Linked DNA regions of Homo sapiens: all the other regions are linked to region 1. Evidence: promoter capture Hi-C in 16 types of primary human blood cells and fetal thymus (Javierre and others, 2016). All regions are on one chromosome and are shown on one strand. Each heading gives the region's core, a stretch centred on a gene start or on the middle of the fragment in contact. The rest is flanking DNA. Distances are from core to core; before and after follow the strand shown. Region 1 holds the start of CCDC6 (coiled-coil domain containing 6). Region 2 overlaps LOC105378327 (a long non-coding RNA gene). Region 3 has its middle 3.3 kb from the start of EGR2.

Evidence for each region. Contacts are between HindIII fragments. The CHiCAGO score rates a contact against its expected background, and 5 or more counts as called.
Region 2: a fragment that was not itself captured here is called in contact with the fragment with the promoter of CCDC6 in region 1 in 1 of 17 cell types (non-activated CD4 T cells); the score reaches 11.1 in non-activated CD4 T cells.
Region 3: a fragment that was not itself captured here is called in contact with the fragment with the promoter of CCDC6 in region 1 in 1 of 17 cell types (non-activated CD4 T cells); the score reaches 5.8 in non-activated CD4 T cells.

What each region holds. Positions count from the first base shown.
Region 1 is chr10:59,904,835-59,907,838 of GRCh38, forward strand. It overlaps CCDC6 (coiled-coil domain containing 6), which reads right to left and starts at 1,722. Exons shown (of 9, transcript NM_005436.5): 1 at 1,288-1,722. The coding sequence starts at 1,590. RefSeq lists an enhancer at 435-664 and silencers at 1,185-1,464, 1,495-1,834, 2,017-2,311. The HindIII fragment of the contact is 3,234 bases long and covers 429-3,004 here.
Region 2 is chr10:62,639,695-62,642,855 of GRCh38, forward strand. All of the region lies in intron 1 of LOC105378327 (a long non-coding RNA gene), which reads right to left. Among named protein-coding and RNA genes, the nearest start is that of ADO, 160 kb to the right of the region's middle. RefSeq lists an enhancer at 889-958. The HindIII fragment of the contact is 1,348 bases long and covers 761-2,108 here.
Region 3 is chr10:62,817,942-62,821,360 of GRCh38, forward strand. It overlaps a transcript of EGR2 not described here. Among named protein-coding and RNA genes, the nearest start is that of EGR2, 3.3 kb to the left of the region's middle. RefSeq lists enhancers at 1-268, 1-75 and silencers at 156-305, 806-1,055. The HindIII fragment of the contact is 2,936 bases long and covers 1-2,823 here.

The DNA.
Region 1 (3,004 bases), core at 472-2,971:
TCATGTATGAGCCAGCACTGGGGGTGTACACACGCGTGCGCACACATATACACAGCCTCCTCCACCGAAGGCATTTCCTGGCACAAGGGGCATCCTAAACTTGCTCCATTTCCAAGGTGTGACCCTCTATCCCCAAATTCATCCCTTTTTCTTCATTTCAAAGTTCAGCCTAATCCGCTATTTTGCAGCAGCTATGGCCATTTATCCCCCTTGATTTCTTGACATCATCTTCTCTGCTTCTGGCTGGGGAACTTTTGATTTGAATACAGTTGTCTGTGTGGGGATCCTTCATGTTAATGATGTGGTGAGCTGGCAGGGATGATAGGTGAGAGTACACAGTGTACTTTTTCTAGTTACGTTTCGCCTCATCACTGCTATAGGGGCCTTTCTAAACGCCTGCCACACCAGGAGAGAGACCTACAGACCCAAGCTTACCCGTTTCTGGGCAGCCTCCAGGGGACAGGTAGAAACAGAACAGATGGCCTGTTCTCCAGTATCTAGACTCAGAAGCAAGATACTTCTAACCACTCCACGAATGAAGCAAACACACGTACCTCTGGCTCAGCCAGGGAGTCACAGTCACTACCCTTCCCCTGGTTTCGGCCCCAGCCCTGTCCAGGCGTGGATGCTGCACTCTCCTCGCTGTAAACCGTCCACCCTCCCAACCCAAAGCAAAGAGCTTCCAACAGAGGTGGGAGCATTAGCGCCGTACCCGCCCTTCCCTCTCGATCCCGGCCAGAAAACTCCACTTCCCGGATTCCCGGCCACTCTCTCCCGCCCCCTCCCCGGGCGATCCAGCTAGCGCAGTCCAGATGCCAGCTTAGTGCCCAGTCCAGCTGCGAACCCCCACACTCCGAGCCAGGACCCAGTAAGAGATCCCAGCTTCCTCCCTCTTCCAGGACTGGGGTTCCCCAGATTCTGGACGCACCCCTCAAACATGCTAGGGCTGAAAAAAGTCCTACCCCGCCCCCCAGCCACGCCGCCAGCCTCCAGCCCAGCCCCGGAGGGGCCTCCTCTCCAGAGGCTAAAAGGGACCATGAATGGTTGCCACAGTAGCCTTCCCCCGCACCGCGCAAGGGTCCTCAGACCCCCGAGGAGGACAGACCCGCGTGGCCCCGAAGGGATACCTCCCTCTCCTCCCGGAAGCCAGCAGGTCCCCGCAGGGAGTGTGCTCTCAGAGGGTCCCCGGGAATCTGGGGAAGACTTGGGGGGTGGCTGGATTCGGGTGCAGCCCCTCCCGGGGCGGGCGGAGGTCGGCGCTGCGGCGCGTCCCCGGGGGGCACTCACGATGGTCACGCTGGCTTTGCGCAGGTCGCGGTTCTCCTCCTGCAGTGCCTTGCACTTCAGTTTGTAGGTCTCCAGCTCTATCTTCAGCACCTTGTTCTCTTGCTGCAGCGAGGCCAGGCGGTTGGTGAGCTCCTCCAGGCGGAACGGCGAGATGACAATGCCCCCCGACTTCCCACCGCCGCCGCCTCCCCCGCCGCCACCGCCGCCGCCCGAGGTCGACGAGCAGGACGACTGCATGGCGGCCGAGCTGCTGCTGTTGCCCCCCGCCCCGTCCGTGTCGCTCTCGCTGGCGCTGTCCGCCATGGCCGCGGCGGGCTGGGGAAAGGAGGAGGAGCAGCAGGGAGGCGGCGGCGACGAAGGCCGGGCTGCGAATGAGTGGGCGCCGGGCGAGCACAGGGGAGCGCCGAGCTGAGCGCCTGGCACCAGGGCGCAGACTCGGAGCGGCGGCGAGAGAAAGAGAGGGCGCTTCCCGCTGCCAAGGGACCTCCTCTGCCAGAGAACAGAGACCCCGCCCGGGCTTGGGCAGTATTGCACTGGGGCTCGCTCCAGCCGGGCTGGGCGCGCTCCCTAGGCCGCCCAGCAAAGCTGGCTGAAAGCTCCGGGACCCGCCCGCCGCCGTCTGGTGACCACGGGCGGGCTGGGAACGCGCAGGCACTGCGGGTGCGGGAAAGCCAAGGACTGCCCCCGCACCACCAGCTCGCCAGCCACACGTGTTCCAAGGGAGGGCCTCCGAGCCCCCTGATCTAAGCCCACGGCCGCCCAGCCTCTTCCGGGCTCGCGCCCGCCCCGAGAAAAAGGAAACCTGATGCCCCACCAGCCTCGCAGGTGCCGGGGACACGTGGAAAGGTCAGCCGGGCTCCGGCACCCATCCTCTACCGTGTTGTGGCCCCATCTTCCGCCGACTGTGTGTGCGCGTGTCTCCCTCTATCTGTTTCACACATACACGCAGTTTTATATTCTCAAAAGCAAGGTGTTTTTGACTAGGAAGGCTTGGATAAACCTAAGAGAACAAAGTTCCTCTACAAGAGGCCGAGGAGGATGAAACAACAGCAGCCACAGGTTAACCTTGTTAAGTAAGAATTTGCAGGAGAGACACACATCTCCTTTAATAACCTCATAAACCACACTGCGCTCAATTGTTTAAACAAGGTGCAACTGTTTTTTTCTTTTTCTCTTTGCATTTTGCAAACATTTCCAGCACATGTCTCGTAGTAGGATTAAGACAGTAACATTTACCTAATGAAGAAAAAAAAAAAGGAAGGCGAAACACTTTTAGTAGAAGATTGAAACACCTCTTTAAGTGCCAATTTTCCAAAGTAACTGCGGACATAACATTATGCTATACAAATAGTAATGATTGAGTGGGAGTGCAACATCACCCGTCTTTGCTATCCTCTTGCTCACTCCTAGAAAACTTTAGCATGTAAAAATAAAACAGTAATTACTGTAATGCGGTCTAATTCATGGTTCTAGCTTTGCAGTTTAAGAAATTAAAAATCAAAAACTTTTATTCCCCCTTCCTCTTCCCAAAGAAAGGCTTGCAGGAAATTGGCCCAGCAGGTGAGATGATTCTAAACACTTTGCCCTGTTGACACAAAACAGCTTTCACTTATGTATAAAAATTGGAAAGTGAAACTGACCAGACTAGTTTTATTACCCACGCTTAGTTAACATTACAACAAACACATGGTAATAGAAAATAGAAAAAAAAGTGTAA
Region 2 (3,161 bases), core at 185-2,684, 2.7 Mb after region 1:
AGCTCCCAGCCTCCCCCACTGTCATGGGCATCTGTGAGTCTAAGTAGGATGGTGGATGATTTCTCACCACCATCTTCCCCTCTCTCTCTCTCTCTCTCTCCATTTCCACCTTTTCCTAGGAGAGAGTCTGATGAAGCCAGTAAAAAGGGTCAAAGGCTCTGGGAGCATAGTGGGACAATGAATGCTGTCTGAGAATGTCAATATGACCAAAGACATTGTTCCACTTGGGTGGACCTGAAAATCATAATGGGGCTCCAAAAAGAGCCCATTGCCTGGGATCCTGAACCGTAAGTTAAAGTTAAAGGTCGGGTCTGGCACGGTGGCTCACGCCTGTAATCCTAGCACTTTGGGAGGCCGAGGCAGGTGGATCTTGAGGTCAGGAGTTTGAGATCAGCCTGGCCAATATGGTGAAACCCCATCTCTACTAAAAAATACAAAAATTAGCTGGGCGTGGTGCAGTGCACCTGTAGTCCCAGCTACTTGGGAGGCTGAGGCAGGAGAATCGTTTGAACCCGGGAGGTGGAGGTTGCAGTGAGAGCCGAGATCAGGCCACTGACTCCAGCCTGGGTGACAGAGCAAGACTCCATTTCAAAAAAAGAAAAAAAAAAAGGTCAAAAAGGCCAAAAGGACCTTGGAAGGAGAGGACAAAAAACCAGAGAGAGAAGACACTTACAGGCAGCTCATTGAAACAAACAAACAAAGACTTCATTCGCACTATCCTCAGGAAAAGTTCCTGTGTATTCAGTACCTTCTAACATAAAGCTTACTTTCTAGTAATAGACCCTACTTAAACCCTTCCAGATGTAAGAGCTGATAGTAAGGGATTGCACATCATTCTCCAATCTGGAGCAGGAAGTTGGAGAAGCTGTCTGCCTTCAGGCTGTGTGCCTGGAAAGTCCCATCCCCATTTTGCACAGTGTGGGTGGAAAGGGAAGCCTTCAGCAGCTCAGAGGACCCTGGCTGGCAGCCACTCACTGACTTGGGACTGGTGATGGAGTGTGGGAGAGGGGAATCTGACAACTTGAAAAAGAGCCTGAAGTCTTCCTAAGCATAGAACTACCACACAGAGCCTCAAGCCTGCCCAATCACAACCTTGCCATCATCTCAGCTAGCATTTTCCTGACAGTTTCTGAAAAAATAATCAAAACTGGACTCACATCTTCTAGCCTCATAGCTAGAAGTGAGTAAGTCAGCTGAGCTTTGCTTAAACTCATGGTTTTCCAAGGTGTGTAACATACACAAAACAATTTGGCAGGGAGACATTAGTAGGTGCTACTCAATACATTTCTGAAGAGTAGCACTTAGGGAAACTCTGGTCTAAACAAAACTAAGCATGTTACTGTAGGGCTTTTCAGAGCCTTGAAAATGCTAATGTGAATTGTGACTCTCCAAGAAAGGAATACAGTCATATTTGTGAATTCTGCCTCTTGGATTCAACTAACCTTGGAAAAGAAAACCTCACAAAGTCACAAAAGCAAAACTTGAATTTGCTGTGAACCAAGTACTGCATAGAATCCTTGCAAATAAATTGGTGTGTAGGCATTGTATTAGGTATTATAAGCAATCTAGAGATGATTTAAAGTATATGAGAGAGGATGTGCATAGATTGAATGCAAATACTATGCCATTTTATATAAGGGACTTGAGCATTCTCAGGTTTTGGTATCTGCAGGGGACAGAGGGGTCCTGGAACCAGTCCTCCGTGGCTACCAAGAGATGACTGCATAGTATTCAGTATTTCCTAAGTTTATTTGAACTCTGAATGCTTTTTTTCACAGGGCAACTTAAAGTACTTCTTTTTCCTGAAACACAATTTGGAAAATACTGTCACAAAGCAAACATTAACCACATTATATAATTTTAGAGATTTATTTTTCATTAAGGTAAGCCAGTATTTCCAAAATACCGCAATGTCTTATCCACCATCTCGAGAGGTAAGACTTCATGTGGATGAACAGTCTGCATCACTGAGGCTTCGAACACCAAAACAATTAAACCATTCAACCTAAAAATCTTTCTAAAGTGTATTATACACATCTCTATTTTAATTGTTAAAAATAAAATTAAATATTTTTGAGTATAAAAGTAAATATATGCTTATTTTTCAAAGCTTAAAAAAATTGCAGAAGACTAAATAAGGCAAAAGCCCATAGTTCTGTTAACATTTATTGTAATTTATCTCATCTTATTTTGCATAAAATATTAATATATAAAATAACTGTCACAATTCACTTAATATTTTCTGTGTCATTAAACAGTCTTTGAAAATGTATCTTTTAATGGCTCTATGATAGTCTATAATGGAAATGCATTACATTTCATTTAATCACTTTTATTATGTTTTTATTATGAATAAGGATTAATATCTATTTATAGAAATCTTTGCCTCTATTTTGATTTTGTTTGAATGGAGGTACCTATAAGCAAAATCATATATATTATAAAATTGCCTTTCAGAGGATTTGTACCATCTATACACCCCCAGCATTCTCTAAGAATAATATTTTACCATCCTTACCAACATTAAATACTGTTATTTTTTAAAAATCTGTGTTAATTTGGTAAGTTAAAACTGCTATCTTATAACTGTTTGCACTTTTCATTACCAGTGAGTTTAAACATTTATAAATACTAATTTGACACTGATATTTTTCCTTCTATAATACATATCATACGACCATTTTCTCTCATGGCCTTAATATTTTACTCATTGACTTGGGTGAACTTTGTTAAGGTTATTGGATATCATGTTTGTGACAAATAATTTTCACAGCTTGCTGTTTACCTTTTAATTGGGTTCATGATTTTTAATATGTAAATCTTAACTTCTATTTATACACAAATATGGCTTTTTTCTTTATTTCTTCTTTTGCTTTTGTGCTTAGAAAATTATTTCCCTTTCAGAAGTCAGATGAATATTCACTAAATTTCCTCGATGTTTTATGGTTTTATTTTTAAAATCCTTTTTTAAAAAATATGGTGTGGTGCTTACTTTTTAAACTGAATAAAACGTTATCTTAATGACTCAGGATCACAATTTCGAATAGTGTTTAAAGTTTTGTAGCATTAAATAGAATGCTCCCAGGAGCCACTGAAGTGGATAGGGATACTTTTCCCCATTCTCTGTGATGTCAGACTTCTGTGATTCGTTAACTGGGTGG
Region 3 (3,419 bases), core at 106-2,605, 2.9 Mb after region 1:
CATTCATGGTCGTTTGTGCAGGTTGCGAACTGCCCCAGAGCCCTTTCCCGCTCCAAAGCCGCGGAGGCCAGGGATAACGCGCAGGGTCAGCCTCGCAGGCCTGTCCTGTCCCTTTTTCACCCCGGGCCCGGAGCGGCCCTAGCTTAGTGTGGGCCGGGGCGGGCGGGAGCCACGGCGCCACGCCGTGGAGGAAGCGCGGCGCTGCAGGCGGGTCTTCAGCCGCTCACCTGCCTCGACCGCTGCAGCCGTGCGCCAGCTCTCGCCGGGCCCAGCGCACCGCGGTCAGGGCCCTGAGGCTGCCGGGAGCGGTCTCTCCCTCTGCTCTTCCACTGAAGCGCTGCTTCTCCCCCTCCCTCCAAAACAGCCGGTATCCAGCGGCCGGCCATCTCTCTGACTTAAGTCACCCAGAGCACATTTGGGAAAGTTTCTCGCTCGCGCTGTGCGCTTTTTTCCAATTGGGGATGAAAAGGACATGGAAAGAAATCGCAGCAAGGTTAGCACCCTAGTAGATACCCCACCCCAGCAAAAATGTGCAAAGTCCTATTTCTCAAGAAAGAAAGAAAGAAAAGAAAAGCAAGAAAAGATAGCTGCGTTCTTACCACGTGCGCCAGCCCACTCCGCCTGCGCTCTGGCGGGTCCCGCGGCCCCCGCGCTGACCATGGGCAAGACGACGCCTCGGAAGGGAGTCCGACTCGCATCTCGGGCCCTGAGTCCGAAAGAACGGGGGAAAGCCGAATTATGCAAATGCGGATCCCTGCGATGGGGCTCGGGTTACGGCCCCCGCCGGCCCCTTAGGTGAGGCACCCACCGGCAGCAAGCGCGGGCGAGGCGACTGCTCGCGCTTCGCTCCTCTCTGCGCACGTGGGCGGACCGGCAGGCGGGCGAGTTGCCCGGGCCGCCCCGCGACTGGCGCTGCTGCCAAACCCGCCGGCGGTCGCCGCGCGCCACCCCGAGGGGGAGCTCCTGGACGCCCGAGTGCCCGGCCAGCAGGGCGCGGAGGGCAGGACCGGGGCTGGGGGCGGGGCGGGGTGCCTGAGCGAGGGAAAACCGCGAGGTCTTCGGCTGCCACCTTTCCCGGAGGAGGATGCCAGTAGAAGGCGGGTGGAGGAGGGGGCCCCATCAAGGAGTCTTGAAAGCACATTAGAGTAAATGAGAGTGACTGACCCTCTGAAATTCTTGTGAGCTTTCCAAGGACTCACACCTCCCCCTAAGAGCTACGCTGCATCAGCCTGGGGTGCGCAGGGAATGGAGTGGGGGCGGGGACGGGCGGCAGCTGCGGGGAGGCCAGGGAATGCCTGGGGCCAGTCCTGGGAGGCCTTTATTGAACCTCCGCTGAAACAAGTCAGTAGATAACTCTCGTAACCTTTGTTTTTTTGAGTGTCTCTTGAAGTACCAACCCTTAAATATGGGTAGTGCAGATAATGGAACAGAATCAAGGCGCACCCTTTCAAGCCAGCCACCCTGTGGATAAGCTCAGAAAGCTAAAGTGGCTTGCCTAAAGTCACGTAGCTGGTAAGTGGTCGTGTCCAAACTTGCAGCTGGGTCTTCTGAATCCAAGTACAGCGCACAGTGGTCGCTACATCGTGCCCTCAGGAAAACCCAGGTCTGAAAAGTGAACACTTCTTTGAGGATTGGGAGCCTGACTCAGCCCACTAGGGAAGAATCAGGCCGCCTCCGCCAATTTCATCTCCTTTCTTTGCCATTTCTGAGGAGAGCAAAGCTGAGGTCAGGGCTTTCTACAGGCAAGGAGGAAGGGACTGTCATGGACACGCCCCCTGCCCACTGTAAAGGGAGAATTTGAGTTCTTGGGCTCTCCAGACCTAGACTGTGGATGGAATAGCCAGGCTGGCACAAAGCCAGCATACTAATAGGCGCTGTCATAAGAGAAGCTAGCCCCACAGTATCCTTCCTGGAGACAAGAAGAGGTGAGAAAAGAAAGAAGTGCGGACAAGTAAAAACTCCAAAGGGTTTACTGAGCAAGATACTGTGCTGGAGGTGGAGGGGTGTGGGGATGGAGAATGTGAGAGTTGAATACAAACATGTACCATGGTCCCTACTATTAAGCATTTGAACTTTTTTGTTTTGATTAAAAATCCAACAAAGAAACAACTTTCTTTAAAATAGACCTGTAAAAATGCCCGACTAAATGGGGCACTCCAAGATGTATCAGGGCTATTAAAAGAGTAGCAAACTCATGCCAGATTCCAATTTGCTTTGTCCAGATTCCAGAGCCAGAAAGTAAAATAACAACGATGCAGAGAAACCCTTTAGTAGGCTTGCTCCTGGGGTTGCGGGAGAGTGTTTAGGGTGACAAGCAGGGGTGGCAACCTGAGGGTCCTAGCTGGACCCCAGAGTCTCCTGAGTGATTTTCAGGTTTTTTTTTTTAACCCAGATTTGAAATTCTCATTTACAGTGTGGTGACAGGATCACCATCAGCCAAGAGGGATGTCACAAATAATTTGTTCATATTTGTGTTTTGATTTATTAACATTCTTGCACATCATTATAGGCTCTACCTATTGTAATGTCATTTTTGTTCCCTTCCATACTAATACTGTTACTGGAGTGGAAGACAAAAGAAGGTCAGAATTTGCCTTAACTGTGGACACTCATGAGGGTGGGGACCTCAAACTTGAATGGCATAGAACATGTGCACTTCGGTGAAAATCAGATCAATTGCCAACTCTGCCATCCACCTAAAGTGCCCCTGCATGCTGAAAAAAAGTGATAAATGGTTCTCTACGTTTCAGCATCTCACTACTAATCTGGTAATCCCAGAGGCTATAAACCAAGCCCAGGCTACGCCAATCAGAACTGTTGTGAAGCTTGAGGAAAGCATTGCTTTGCACCAGTCCAATGTACAACTTAAGTCACGTGTCATTGGCACAAATAATCTGGACAGGAGGAGATAAGAGCTCTATGATCTAATTTTGTAGAAGCAGCAGCACAAGCAGCAGCACTGGCCCAAGCAGTGGGTGCTCAGGTTCCCTTTAGATATTTCGTGTGCCTCTCTACCAGGTGTCCATCACTACACCAAACCCCAGGGATATAATGGTGCCTAAAATTAGGCCTGGTTCCCACCCCATGGAATTAGCATTGTGCATCACACAAATACATGACTATGAACAATGACAGTGTTTGATCCCAATGAAAGAAAATGACAAAGGACCCAGTTGAATCTAGGAGGTTGAGGAAGACTTCTCTAAGCAGAGATCTGAAGGATGTGCAAGGATTGGGGGAAGGTCAGTGGAGACAGCATTCCAGGGAGAAAGAACAGGTGTTGAAAGGTGCCAAGGTGGAGGGAAGCAAAGTTCATTTGAAGAATGGAGAAAGTCCATGGTTGGTGGAAACTTCTGAGGCCATCTCCATGTCTAGTGCACTGGGGCTGAAGGTAGCCAATACAGGCATCCTCCTTGGAG